Linked DNA regions of Homo sapiens: region 2 is linked to region 1. Evidence: promoter capture Hi-C in 16 types of primary human blood cells and fetal thymus (Javierre and others, 2016). All regions are on one chromosome and are shown on one strand. Each heading gives the region's core, a stretch centred on a gene start or on the middle of the fragment in contact. The rest is flanking DNA. Distances are from core to core; before and after follow the strand shown.

The links. Contacts are between HindIII fragments. The CHiCAGO score rates a contact against its expected background, and 5 or more counts as called.
Region 2: a fragment that was not itself captured here is called in contact with the fragment with the promoter of GLI4 in region 1 in 2 of 17 cell types (total CD4 T cells and total CD8 T cells); the score reaches 6.3 in total CD4 T cells.

What each region holds. Positions count from the first base shown.
Region 1 is chr8:143,264,321-143,270,735 of GRCh38, forward strand. It overlaps GLI4 (GLI family zinc finger 4), which reads left to right and starts at 3,125. Exons shown (of 4, transcript NM_138465.4): 1 at 3,125-3,164; 2 at 5,040-5,200. The coding sequence starts at 5,077. RefSeq lists silencers at 2,591-3,300, 3,461-3,580 and enhancers at 4,141-4,963, 5,590-5,779. The HindIII fragment of the contact is 18,516 bases long and covers 1,368-6,415 here.
Region 2 is chr8:143,123,806-143,130,220 of GRCh38, forward strand. No RefSeq gene overlaps it. Among named protein-coding and RNA genes, the nearest start is that of LY6H, 33 kb to the right of the region's middle. RefSeq lists an enhancer at 3,089-3,648. The HindIII fragment of the contact is 1,590 bases long and covers 1,945-3,534 here.

The DNA of each region.
Region 1 (6,415 bases), core at 1,875-4,374:
TGGCTGGAGCAGGCCATGCCTGTGTGGGTATCTGAACAGGCACTGGATTCCCCGATCTCAACAAAAGAAGCCCATGGAGGCCTTTTCTAATCCACAGTCCAAGAGGACAAATCAAGACAACAGGCTGGGGGGGCTGGCTGTGGGCCGACTCCCACGTCTTAGGACCAGGGGCTCTGGGGCTGTTTGGGCTGGAACCCCTCCTCCCAGCATAACAAACACTAGCTCATTATTTACAGTGAATACCCAACAAAACCCTGCTCGAGGTGAGGAGCGGGGACCTGCTGCTCCAACAGACCAGACTGGCTGCTGGCTCCGAGCTCATTAAATCAGCAACCTTTGCACTCCCTCCAAAGCCCTGCCCGTCACCTTCACACCTCCCTGGTGGGGGAAGGGGATTCTTCCACTCTGATTACACCCGTTCCCATCTCCCTTCACTCCTGTGAGCTGGCCAGGCTGAGGATTTGTCCAAAGGGCCTGGGGAGTGAGACGCTCCACAGCTTCTCATGGGTCAGCCGACATGGACGGTAGCTTGGGTGACTCAGCTTCCCGTGATGCGCTGGATGCACAGGGAGCTGGTGACAACAGCCTGTGTGTGTGACAGAACAGCCTGTGCGTGTGACAGGACGTCAAGAACTACATACAAAGACACAGCTGCCCCCAAAAATGAGTCTGCACAGCCTGGTGCAATGCAGCTGCAGCCTGTCATCGAGTCAATTGCATTGTCGTCCGCCGCTCTCCTGATGTAGTTCTGTGTTTGTCCATTTTGCACTGCTATAAAGGAATACCTGAGACTGGGTAAGTTGGTGAGCGCCTGTAGTCCCAGCTACTCAGGACGGTGAGGCAGGAGAATAGCATGAATCCGGGAGGCGGAGCTTGCAGTGAGCCAAGATCGCGCCACTGCACTCCAGCCTGGGCCACAGAGCGAGACTCCGTCTCAAAAAAAAAAAAAAGAAAAGAAAAAAGAGGAGCTGGGCGCAGTGGCTCACGCCTGTAATCCCAGCACTTTGGGAAGCTGAGGCGGGTGGATCACCTGAGGTCAGGAGTTCAAGACCAGCCTGGCCAACATGGCAAAACCCCGTCTCTACTAAAAATACAAAATTATCCGGGCATGGTGGCGCATGCCTGTGATCCCAGCTACTTGGGAGGCTGAGGCAGGAGAATCACTTAAACCTGGGAGGCGGAGATTGCAGTGAGCCGAGATCGCACCAATTGCACTCCAGCCTGGGCAACAAGAGCGGCAACTCCATCTCAAAAGTAAATAAAGAACAAAAGGGGTTTGCTTGGCTCACAGTTCAGATCAGCGTTCAGAGGGTGCTGCTGTCCCTGGTCATACTGTACAAGAAGAGGCTTCTGGGGAGGGCTCAGGAAGCTTTTACTCACAGCAGAAGGCAAAGTGGGAGCCAGGGCATCCGTCACTTGGTAAGAGCCAGAGCAAGAGAGGGGCGGAGGCGCCAGGCTCTTTTTAACAGCCAGCTCTCACTCATCACCAAGGAGAGGGCACCAAGCTACTCATGACCCAAATAGCCTCCCACCAGGTCCCACCGCCACCATCAGGGGCCACATTTCCATGAGATGTGCAGGGGGCTCACTTCCAAACAGTATCAGATATAGTACTAGTTCCTTTTTTTTTTTTTTTTTTTTGAGACAGAGTCTCATTCTGTTGCCCAGGCTGGAGTGAAGTGGCGCGATCTCGGCGCAATGCAACCTCCGCCTCCCGGTTCAAGTGATTCTCCTGCCTCAGCCTCCCAAGTAGCTGGGATTACAGGTGCCCGCCACCGTGTCCGGGTAGCTTTTTTATATTTTTAGTAGAGATGGGGTTTCTCCCTGTTGGTCAGGCTGGTCTCAAACTCCCCACCTCTGGTGATCCACCCACTTCAGTGTCCCAAAGTGCTGGGATTACAGGCGTGAGCCACTGCGCCCGGCGCTACTTATAACTTTTTAAGAAACTACCAAGCCAATTTCTAGAATGGCAGCACCACTTTGCCTTACCACTGGCGATGTCCCAAGCTGCTCCGCGACCTCAGTGATGCTTGGCACTTGTTAGCAGTTTTTACCTGAGCCACCTGGCAAGTGTGCAGTGGCACCCACCGCGATGCTGGCCGGCCCTTCCCTGACAGCCATCCCTTCCCGAGCCTATTGCCATCCCTGTGCCCTCTTCGGTCAAACGTCTGTTGCGGCTCTTGCCAATTTTCTAACTGGAATGTTTGTTTTCTTGCGGTAGAGTTTAGAGATTTTTACATATTATCAGCCTGGGGGCTCCTCCACCCACACAGCCCTGAGCGTCCACCCTGGCAGCTGTTGCCCGTCTGCAGGCCCCCCCGCCCTCTGCTCCGCGTGCCCCTCCAGCTCAGGGGTCCCCTCGCCTCGGCTCTCTGCACCCCTGCTCAAAACGGTCAAAGAACCCTCCCCGGCCGTTTATTTTTCCCAGAAAGTGACAATTTTCTCTTTTCAGGTCGTAAGCACAGAACTGAGGGAGAAACTGTGGCTGAACAAGAGGAAAATGAGGAAGGAGTCCATGAAGGGGCTTTGGGGAACCTGTAACATCCTCCTCAGGCTCCCGGGGACGCCCCTGGAAAGCAGGCAGAATCGAGGGCGCTGGGGCCCCCGCGAGGGGAGCGGGAGGTCGCGCGTCTCGCAGCGGTTCCCGGCCGCCGGTGACCATCGCTGCGGACACATCCCGAGGAGGGAACCCAAGAGGGCGGCGGGGGGGACTCGCGAGCTGAACGTGGAAGCAACTCCAGCCGAGGACCCCCGGAGGCCTGGAGTGCACGGAGGGGCCGCGGGCAGCGTGGGGACGGCGCCGTCATCTCCCGAAGCCCGGCCCCGCGCTGGCTCCCCGGGCGGTGCAGGGCCGGCGTCGGGAAGGAGGCTCCGAGGCGCCGGCTTCTGCGCCCCACGCAGCGCCGCTCCCCGCGCCCGGGCGCTTTGCAGGCGCGGGCGGGATCCGGGCCAGCGTGTACGCGAAAGCCACGCGCGGGCGCAGCCCACGAGGGGAGGGGCGGGGAAAGGCCTCCTCTTCGCTCCCGGCCCCGCCCCCACACGGCCACCGAGGCGTGCGGTCCTCCCGGGGCCCAGAGCGTCCCGGAAGTGCGCGCCGGCCGGGCGGAGTGGGGCGGGGCCGGACACTTCCGTCCGGCGCGCGGCGTCCTCCTCCCGCTCGGAAGGTGAGTGGGCGCGGGCGGCGGCGGCGGCTCCGGGTGCCTGGGACCAGCCCAGTCCGAGCTCGTGCGCCGTACTCCGCGGTGCAGCCCTGCCCAGCCGGGCCGTGCGGCCCTTGCAGCCGCCGCTCGCCGTGACCTTGGCCTTGGGCCAAGCCCGGGGAGCGGGGTGGGCTCCTGGGGGTCGCGGAGCAGCAGCGGACCGCCCCGCCCAGCGGCCCTGGCGATAGCGGGTGTCCGTTCGCAGGGCGCCTTTCCCAGGCACCCAGTGACGGCAGCTGTCGTCATCGCCACTCTGCAGATGGGAAACTGAGGCCCGGAGGTCCCGCCGCTCCGGAGCGAGGAGCCGCCGGACCCCAGCGCCGCACCGCCGGGCGGACGCGCTCTGTGCCGAGCTCCCGGCGATTGGGTCCGCTCCCACGGGGCTGGGAACAGAGGGGCAGAGGATGCTTCCCCCGAGCCGCTGGCAGGAGTGCCCTTCCCCCTTCAGTCTGGAGCTCAGAGTTTGTGCGTCCCTGGGGGTGAAGGGGCGTCCACGCTGTGATGGTCGCCTCTGCTCAGTCCTGGGGGCCAAGCCAGGGTCGGGGTGATCGAGCAGGCCCTTTTACCAGGTGTCCCCAGTAAGTTAACTAAGTAACTTGAGATGTGACTTCAGGGTGGAGGACCTGCACCCAGTGGCCACCTACCTGGTGACCTGACCCTTCCCATCATTAGGGGATGGAGGCTGGCCCAGAAGCCGGGCACTGGGGTGGCGGCCGTGTGGGAGCTGCCTCTCCCACTTCCTCGAAGCAGGCACTGTCTGCTGTTCTTAGATCTGAGTATCCGTTAACTTTTGTCCTCTTTTCCCGTTCCTTTCTTCACTCCCTGCCCCAGATTAGGAGTTCCTACTCTATCACAGTATGAAAGAAAAGTCACTTTTCACATTGGACTCAAGCCGTTTTTGCAAAGTAAACTAAGAAGTGTCTTGGAGCCCTGAGTGAGTCTCCCAGTGCTGCTGCAGGGCTGGACTAGGGGATTCCAGCCTGCAGTCTCTGAGGGCTCTGTAGGGTCTGAGGAAGAGAGTTGCCCTCTGGAAACGTCTCTTCTCTGCTGTTCGGGAAAAACCTTATTAAGATTTCCTCCAAAACACTCATGCGCAGCAGGCATGGTTCGGTTTTCAGCCCTCCCACAGGGCCAGCAGCTGAGGTTTTTCTGGAAGACTCCCTATGCCTTTCTCTGGGGGAGGGGTGATGCCACGGGCTGGAAGGAGATGCCAGAGCCTCTGCTGGGACAGGAGCTTCGCTTCAGCCCCCACAGGCGTCTGCTGTGCCGCCCAGGCGGTGGCTGCTTCCTAAGCGCGCCTTCCAAGGCGTTACTCCTTTGCTGCTGCTGCTGCTGCTGCTGTTGTTTGAGTCTTGCTGTGTCTCCCAGGCTGGAGTGCAGGGGCGCCATCTCGGCTCACTGCAACCTCCACCTCCTGATTTCAAGCTGTTCTCCTGCCTCAGCTTCCCAAGTAGCTGGGATTACAGGTGCCCGCCACTGCGCCCAGCTAATTTTTATATTTTTAGTAGAGATGGGGTTTCACCATATTAGACAGGCTGGTCTCAAACTCCTGACCTCATGATCTACCCACCTCGGCCTCACAAAGTGCTGGGATTACAGGCATGAGCCACCGTCCCCAGCCACTCAAAGCGTTATTCCTTACTGAATAAATGTGCCAGGTCCCCCAACTGCCTCACCCCAGGCCTATGTGTCTCTGTGGGTTCATCCTCCATCCTTGCTCCTCCTGGAGTGGATAAACCTCCATCTCCCCTTGGAGAGCTGGCATGTTGCCTCCTCCTGCACCATCCCCCCGACATTCCTCCCAATCCCCTCATCTGCCATGGTTTTCATTTTCCCCAGGTCCCAGGTGTGACACCTTCAGCAGGTCTCAGGGAAGATGGCAGCCCTAGGGGACATTCAGGAGTCCCCTTCTGTCCCGTCCCCTGTCAGTCTCTCATCACCGGGGACACCTGGAACCCAGCACCACGAGCCTCAGCTTCACCTCCATGGGCATCAACATGGTACTCACCCAGCCCGCTGTGCGCCCTCCACCCTGCATCCCCTGCCCTCACGTCCCCTGCCCTGTCTCCTCCTGACCTGCCACGCTGGCTGACTTGAGAGGCGCCTCCAGACACCTGTATGCAGCTCCTTCAGCAGCTGGGGTTCCCACACCCTCAGGCCAGGGGCTCGGCGCGGGTTGGGTTGGGGCAGCGGTGGTTGAGGCTGGGGCCAAGCCTGAGCTCTCGCTCCCTAGGGACAGCTCCCCGCATTGTTTCTTTCCTGAGTTGAGGTATAGGAGGGAAAGTGGCCTCAAAATCTGGATCCAGCGTGACCAGGAGCAAGGCATCGCCCCTCTGAGTGTGTGTTGTCATTCAGGAAGTGGAGCAGCCAGAGTCCTTGCCAAGCTGGTTTGGGTGTGATCCCCCGGGACTCGCAGGGACAGAGCGCCAGCCTTGCTCCACCCCTGATGTTGTGGCCTCATGGTCACATGGCAGGCTCTGGGAGTTGAGGTGTGGGGGAGTCCCAGCCCCATAGTGCCCCTGGCTCTACTCCCTCTCAGAGGTCAGGGATCCTGAGGCTACATCTCTGCTGGGTGTTCCACAGGAGGCCTGGCCTCGGCCCTCGTGGCCCAACCCAGCACATGAGCTGCTGACAGCAGGGGCAAGGCCCCATATAGGTCAAGCCTGGAGAGCCCGTGCCTGGCCCAGGAATGGGGGCAACCTGGCACAGGGTTCTCCCTCTTGGGGAGTCAGAGTCCTGGTGGCTGAAGGGACCACTGAGGCTTGTGGAGAGCAGCTGCGCTGCATGGGGCCCTCAGGTGGGCACTCAGATGGGGACAGAGAGTCCGGGGGGCTCCCCCAAGGAGCCAGGACCAGGGTGAGTTAGAGGAGCAGGGAGCCAGGCAGCTTGGCATCCACTCCCCTGCAGCCCTGCCGTCTCCGCTGCGGTGTCCCGAGCAACTCCCCAGGGACTGCGAGGAGGCTGGGAAGGGGCGCCCGTGGGCTGCCTGGGCTGCCTGTCCTGGTGGACCTGGCCAGGGGCTACCTGGAAGGATCCCAAGCCCCTGCAGCACACACTGTGGCTGGGCCTCCAGCCCATGCCCCTGAGGGCCGTGCTCCTCACCCCTTAGTCAGAATCTCAGGGCCCACCCTTGCCCTCTCATGTCATCTGTACAATGGCTGAGAGGAGTTCTCCTGTCCCGTTACCAGTGGGGACACAGAAGCCCAGAGACAAGG
Region 2 (6,415 bases), core at 1,490-3,989, 140 kb before region 1:
ATACACACTCACCCTTACACGTGTACACATGCACACCCTCACACGTGCACACACCCCCAAACATGTATGCATCCTCACATGTACATGCACACGCACACATGCATGCCCTCGTGTGTACACGTGCGCACACACACCCTTGAACACATATACATCTTCACACATGTACACACACCCTCACATGTACACACATGCACCCTCAAACGTACAGATCCTCACACATGTACACACACCCTCACACATGTACACACACCCTCACACATGTACACACCCTCACACATGTATACGTACGCACACCCCCTCAAACGTACACACCCTCACACATGTACATGCACACACATGCACACATGCATGCCCTCGCATGTACAGGCACACCCTAATACATCCTCACACATGTACGCACACAAACCCTCACACGTACACACACCCTCACATTTACACACTCAAACGTACACACATCCTCACACATGTACACACACCCTCGCACATGTATACATATGCACACCCTCACACGTACGCACACCCCCTCAAACATGCACACATACACGCACACACATGCCCTCACATGTACATGCACACACCATCAAACATGTACACATGCACACTCGTACACACACCCCCACACACACACTCACACACGTACACACACCCACATATGTACACACCCTCACACACATGTACACACACCCTCACACATGTACACACCCTCACACGTACACACATGCACCCTCACATGTACAGCCTCACACATGTACATGCACCCACACATGTAACACACCCTCACATGTAACACGTCACACGTACACATGCATCCTCACACACACACCCTCACACATGTACACACCCTCACACGTGCACACATGCACTCCCACATGTACCCCCCACCCCCCCACGTACACATACAGGTACACACCCCTCACACATGTATGCACACACCCACACGTACATTCACATACATGTGCACACACCTTCACATGTACACACAGACCCTCACACTGTATACATATGCATACCCACACGTACACACACCCTCACATATGTACATGCACACATACACATGCCCTCACATGTACACACACACCCTCAAATGTACACACATCCTCACACATGTATACACACGCACCCTCACATGTACACAGCCCTCACACATGTACACACCCTCAAACATGTACACACATCCTCATACACATGCACACCCTCACAAATGTACATGCACACGCATGCCCTCATATATGCACGAGGACACACCCTCAAACATGTACACACACACATCGGCACACATGCATACACATGCCCACACACTCATGTACACACATACACACCCTCACACATGTACATACACCCTCACACACACCCTGATAAATGTACACACACACCACACACCCTCACATATGTATACACACACCCTCACACATGCACACACGTGTACACACATGGAAAGTGTTACCATTTGCAACCCATCCATCCTCCCCTGGGGATGCTCTTGGAGAAAGAAATCAGACAAAAGAAAAGAATGTCCTTGTAAACACGCTAATGAGAGCTCCTGGAGGTGTCGACTGTGAGCACAGAAGAGCCTTCTGTTCAGGATTAAACACATCTGGGCTTATGGCACACGGCCCACTGGAAAATGTCAGTGCCTCTGGCAATTTCTAGAGTTTAAAGGGAAAAAGTTTCATAACGGAAAGAGCCCCCTTTGGGTAAGAGCTGCCCCTCCTGTACCACGGGGAGCTTCCTACCCTAAACCTTGATGCAGCGTGCCTCCATGTGTCAGGGACGGGGGTGGGGGTCGGCGAGTGGGCAGTCCCAGTGGTCCCCTGGCTTCCCCTGGCTCCCAGGCAAACGAGACCATCCCGCTCTGCGTGCTGTCTCCGGTGGGCACCACGAGCAGCATGGCTGTTTATTATCTAAGCTGAGGTTCTCTGAGGCAAGATAAGGGGGCGCGGGAGAAGCTTGCTGAGGACGAGGCTCCAGGTGGCTGTCAACCTGTCCCTGATACAAAACGCTGACAGCCTTGGGGCTGGCCACAGGGAGCACACCTTACCGAGGGGACGGAGAGGAAGCCGACCTGGGGCGGGGAGCTGGCCAAAGACCGGCACAAGGGAGGCGAGAGAAACAGCTCTTCCATGGCAGGTGCCACTGACACCCAGACAGAAACAAGGCCACTGGAAGAAGCAGCTGGGGCACAAGAAAGAAACCAGACCCGGTCCTCGGGTCAGTGCAGTCTCCTCTCTCCAGTGGCCAATTAAACAGATGTGACATTCATCCAAAAAGTAACTCAGCTGAGAAACCTGACTGGCTGCAAACCCATGCTGCGGGTGGAAGGGCATGGCAGGCGGCTGCGGAAACCCGAGGGTCCTCTGAGAAGAGCCAGGACATTTGGGGAGAGCGGCAGGCAAAGCCCGATGGCTCAGGATGGGCACAGTTTCCTAAATTATCAGTGCGAGGGGCGGGCACACCACTGATTCTAGATACCACTGCATGGAAGTGATGGTCAGGGCCAAGAACCAGTCCCCAAGACGCTGCAAGCTCTTGTGATCAAATGCTTCCAGGTGGGTCCATACGTCACTTGCTGCAGGTGGCAAAGGTGGGGGTTTTACCCTGAGAGGAGTGACTGCCCCCCACCAACCCACAAATGGCATCTTGCTTCCAAAGCTGTTGGGAAGTTACAAGTGCAGGTGACCCTAGGCTGGCTTTACGGTGAACAAGGGGACGCCTAATTTAATGCCATTGACACCAATGTTGCCACTAAACAGAAGCCCCTAAGACTGAAACTGTATAGGTTTTTGCAAAATTACATTCCTCATCCAGAAATCCTGTGATTCTAGTCACAGTGTCACTGGGGGAAAGACCTCGATGTGAAAGGGCCCTGCCCAGAAACAAGCTGGGACATGGCCCAGGCAGCCCACGGGGCCACTCAGGTGCTACTGGGAGGGCCCAGGTCTTGGTCAGAAAAGATTGGCTTTTGGCAGAAATGCAAATCACGTTTGGGGCCCAGGGGCTACCTGATGCATTTCTTTCATGTTGCCTGGGAGACCACCGTGAGCTGGCAGCCGTGCTGGGAAGATGCCCGTGCTGGGGCCCTCGCTGCACTACGAGCCACCACAACCCCACAGTGTGGGTCAGTGCCTGTTGACTGCCTGGCAGCTCCAGAGGGGTAGGAGTGCGAGGGCTCGGCTGGGCGGGGTCTCACAGACTGCAGTTGAGGTGTGACAGCTGGGCTCCTGGGTGGAGGCCCAGGGCTGTTCGGATGGATGGCAGACTCTTTTCCCGGCTGTAGAGCTGCATTCTCCGTCTCCTTGCTGGCGGTCAGCAGGACCTGGTCTCCACCGTTCAGGCTGCCATCTCGCACGGCCCCACAGCACTCTTCCCTGGCCTCTGACTCTTCTTCTGCTTTTAAAGGGCTGGCGTGATTCGACCAGGCCCACCTGCATCCACGGACCCTAAGGTCGGCTGACCTGGGACACACGGCACATCTGCAACGCCCCTTCCCGGCAGCACCCACGGGTATTGGAGGAGTGGTAGGGGATGGGGGAAGGAAGCTTGGGTGGGTGGGTCATTGGAACTCTTGTGCATGGAAGAGCGTTAGATGATCCCGACACCAGAAAAGTTGGCCACGTCCCAGGTGGCGTGAAGAAGCACTGGAGAAAGAGGGGCAACCCATGAAAGCCCCTTGGCGGGTTTAATGTCCAGCGGCAACAGTGAGGGGCCCAGCGGGGCATGGGTGACAGGGACCAGGTTACCAAGGGTCTGGGCGGGGAATGGCAGGGCATGTGAGGGGTATGGTGGGGAATGGCGGGGAATGGCGGGGCATGGGAGGGGCATGGGAGGGACATAGGAGGGACATAGGAGGGGCATGGCGGGGCATGGTAGGGCATGGCAGAGAATGGCGGGGAATGAGAGGGGAATGGTGGGGAATGGCGAAAAATGGCGGGGGAATGGGAGGGGCATGGAAGGGAATGGGAGGGAATGGGAGAGGCATGGCGGGGAATGGCGGGGCATGGGAGGGACATAGGAGGGGCATGGGAGGGACATAGGAGGGGCATGGCGGGGAATGGCAGGGAACGAGAGGGGAATGGTGAGGAATGGCGGCAAATGGCGGGGGAATGGGAGGGGCATGGCGGGGAATGGCAGGGCATGGGAGGGACATAGGAGGGGCATGGTGGGGAATGGCAGGGAGTGGGCTGCACAGAGACCAGCTTGCTTTGCTGCCCAGAGGGCTGTAAAGCAGCCCCCGCGGACCTCCTGGCCTGGCCCCTGCATCAGGCGGTCCCCCAGCCGGCAGAGCAGGCTGCCTGGCCCGGACTCTTCCCATGCCGGGGGCCCTTCTGCTGTTTGTAAATCAGCTTCCCCACGCCACACAGGTGGAGGCAGGACAGGCAACCTCCCTAATGCGGGAGCTGAAAAGGAGTGAAAAAGGAGTCAGGCCCCTGCTCTGGGGGCGTTTAGGGATTTGCCAACTCGGGCTGGACAACGGCCCCGCAGGATGCCAGGCAAATGCACCCCAGAGAACTGGACAATTGGAAAATCCCCAGGGTGCCCTCAGGAATGGGAATTCCTGCCAAAAACTCCTGTTGCCAGCTCAGAAGGGGTTGAATGGTAGCGCCTTGGTCAGATCCCAGAATGCGCCCAGCAGGTTAGGGAAGGAGCCAGCAGGAGGGAGCATGGGGTCCCCTTGTGCCCAGCGCAACAACTAGCATGAGAAGAAACCACATCCACCGCTGACCAGAAAGCATTTGCAAATAGCTTTGGGTGGCACCCCCGAAGGACAAGGCCTGGCCACAGCAGGCAAGGGGGACCCTGGGTGCCTATGGCCTATCAGGAGGCCCGGAACCAAGGGAGCACTCAGGACACACCAAGCAATACAGGACACACCAAGGAGCTCTTCCCATCCCAACACAGCCACAGGCACTCTTGCACCAGATGTGGGCAGGGCCTTGTTTCCTGCACACCAAGCAGTGCTGCAGGACACTGTCTGAGCATCCTACGGTTTAAGTCATTTCCCACCGCATCCGCCTGGAGGTAGCGTCAGATCCCACAGATCGAGGGCTCAGTCCCGTGCAAGGGGCCCCACTTCTGATGCCAGTTGCAAGCCCCGGGTGTGGCTTCTGACGGAACTGCCATGAATCAGGGTTCCCACAACCCCCTCCTCCGGTTTGATGAATTGCTGGAGTGGTTCACAGGACTCAGGGACACGCCGCCCTGCGTTTACCCATTTATGACACAGGCTGTGACGAAGGTGCGGAGGCACGGGGGGTGGAGGAGACAGGCACGTACATGTGCAGCTTCCAGACAGCCCCAGGCCTCCACCCAACATCCGCGCATTGGAGATGGGAAGTTCCTTGGGTTTTGCAAGGCACAGGGGAGAATGGCAGAGCTCCTGTGCCCTCCTGGGCGCCGTCCTCCAGGCACCTGCGTGCGTCCAACTGTTGAAAGCTCCTTTTGGGTTTTTATGGAAGCTTCATTACATATACATGATTGATTGCATCGTTGGCTATTGATGATCAACCCAAACTTCATCACACTCACTACAAAAGAGACTCTTGTCACTCCAGAGATTCCAGGAAGGAGCTAAGCTGTATCTCACGCTCTCACGACACTCTATTCTGGACTTGGCTTATTTGTAACAGAAGCAACCTTGGGAACAGCATGAGGTGTTTAGAATGGTGAGTCCTCTGTCAATTTCAGCCGACTTGGACCTACTTCTTCTGATCCAGGTACCCACTCTTGCTGGCACCAGGACACTGAGACGGTCCAGGAAACACGGCAAGCATACGTGTGCACCACACTGCTCGTCCCGTCCAGCTGTGGCCATGCTGAAAATTGCAATGGGCCACTGGAAGACAGGTTATTCAGGCAGGTGTGAGAAACGTGACCAGTTGGTGGAGTCGCTTAACTGGGGTGTCTTCAGACTGAGCCTGAGGGGAAGGCAGGCAGGCCGCTCACAGGCTTCAGGGCTGGGGGAAGGAGGAGGGCGTGTGGGGGGTGCAATTGGACCCTCTGTACCTTCCCCACCTCCCAAAGGTTTCTCTTCTTCTGCCTGAGCCAGTGGTCCCAGGACCCCATGCCCAAGCACTAAAGTGGGCGGCACAGGCTCCAGAAGGGACATTAGACTGGTCATGACTGGACCCCATGGCGGGACTTCCTGCAAATGTGGCCAGCAGGAGGGCTGCCCCGTGGCTCCTCACCGGCGAGTCCTGTGGCAGCAGCAGGCCGAGACACAGCACCACAGGGCTGTGCCGGGTGCCTGCTCGAAGGCAGAGCTGCAGTGGGGGATCCAACAGGAACCGTGGAAATGGGGGGCTCCTGCAGGCAGGGGGATACCCACAGGGTCCCGTGATCCTGCAGGGGTGCAAGTGGCTCCTTCCGTGATGGCCCTAGAGCAAGAGGGTAATACTCTTGCCACCTCTCCCAGACCTGG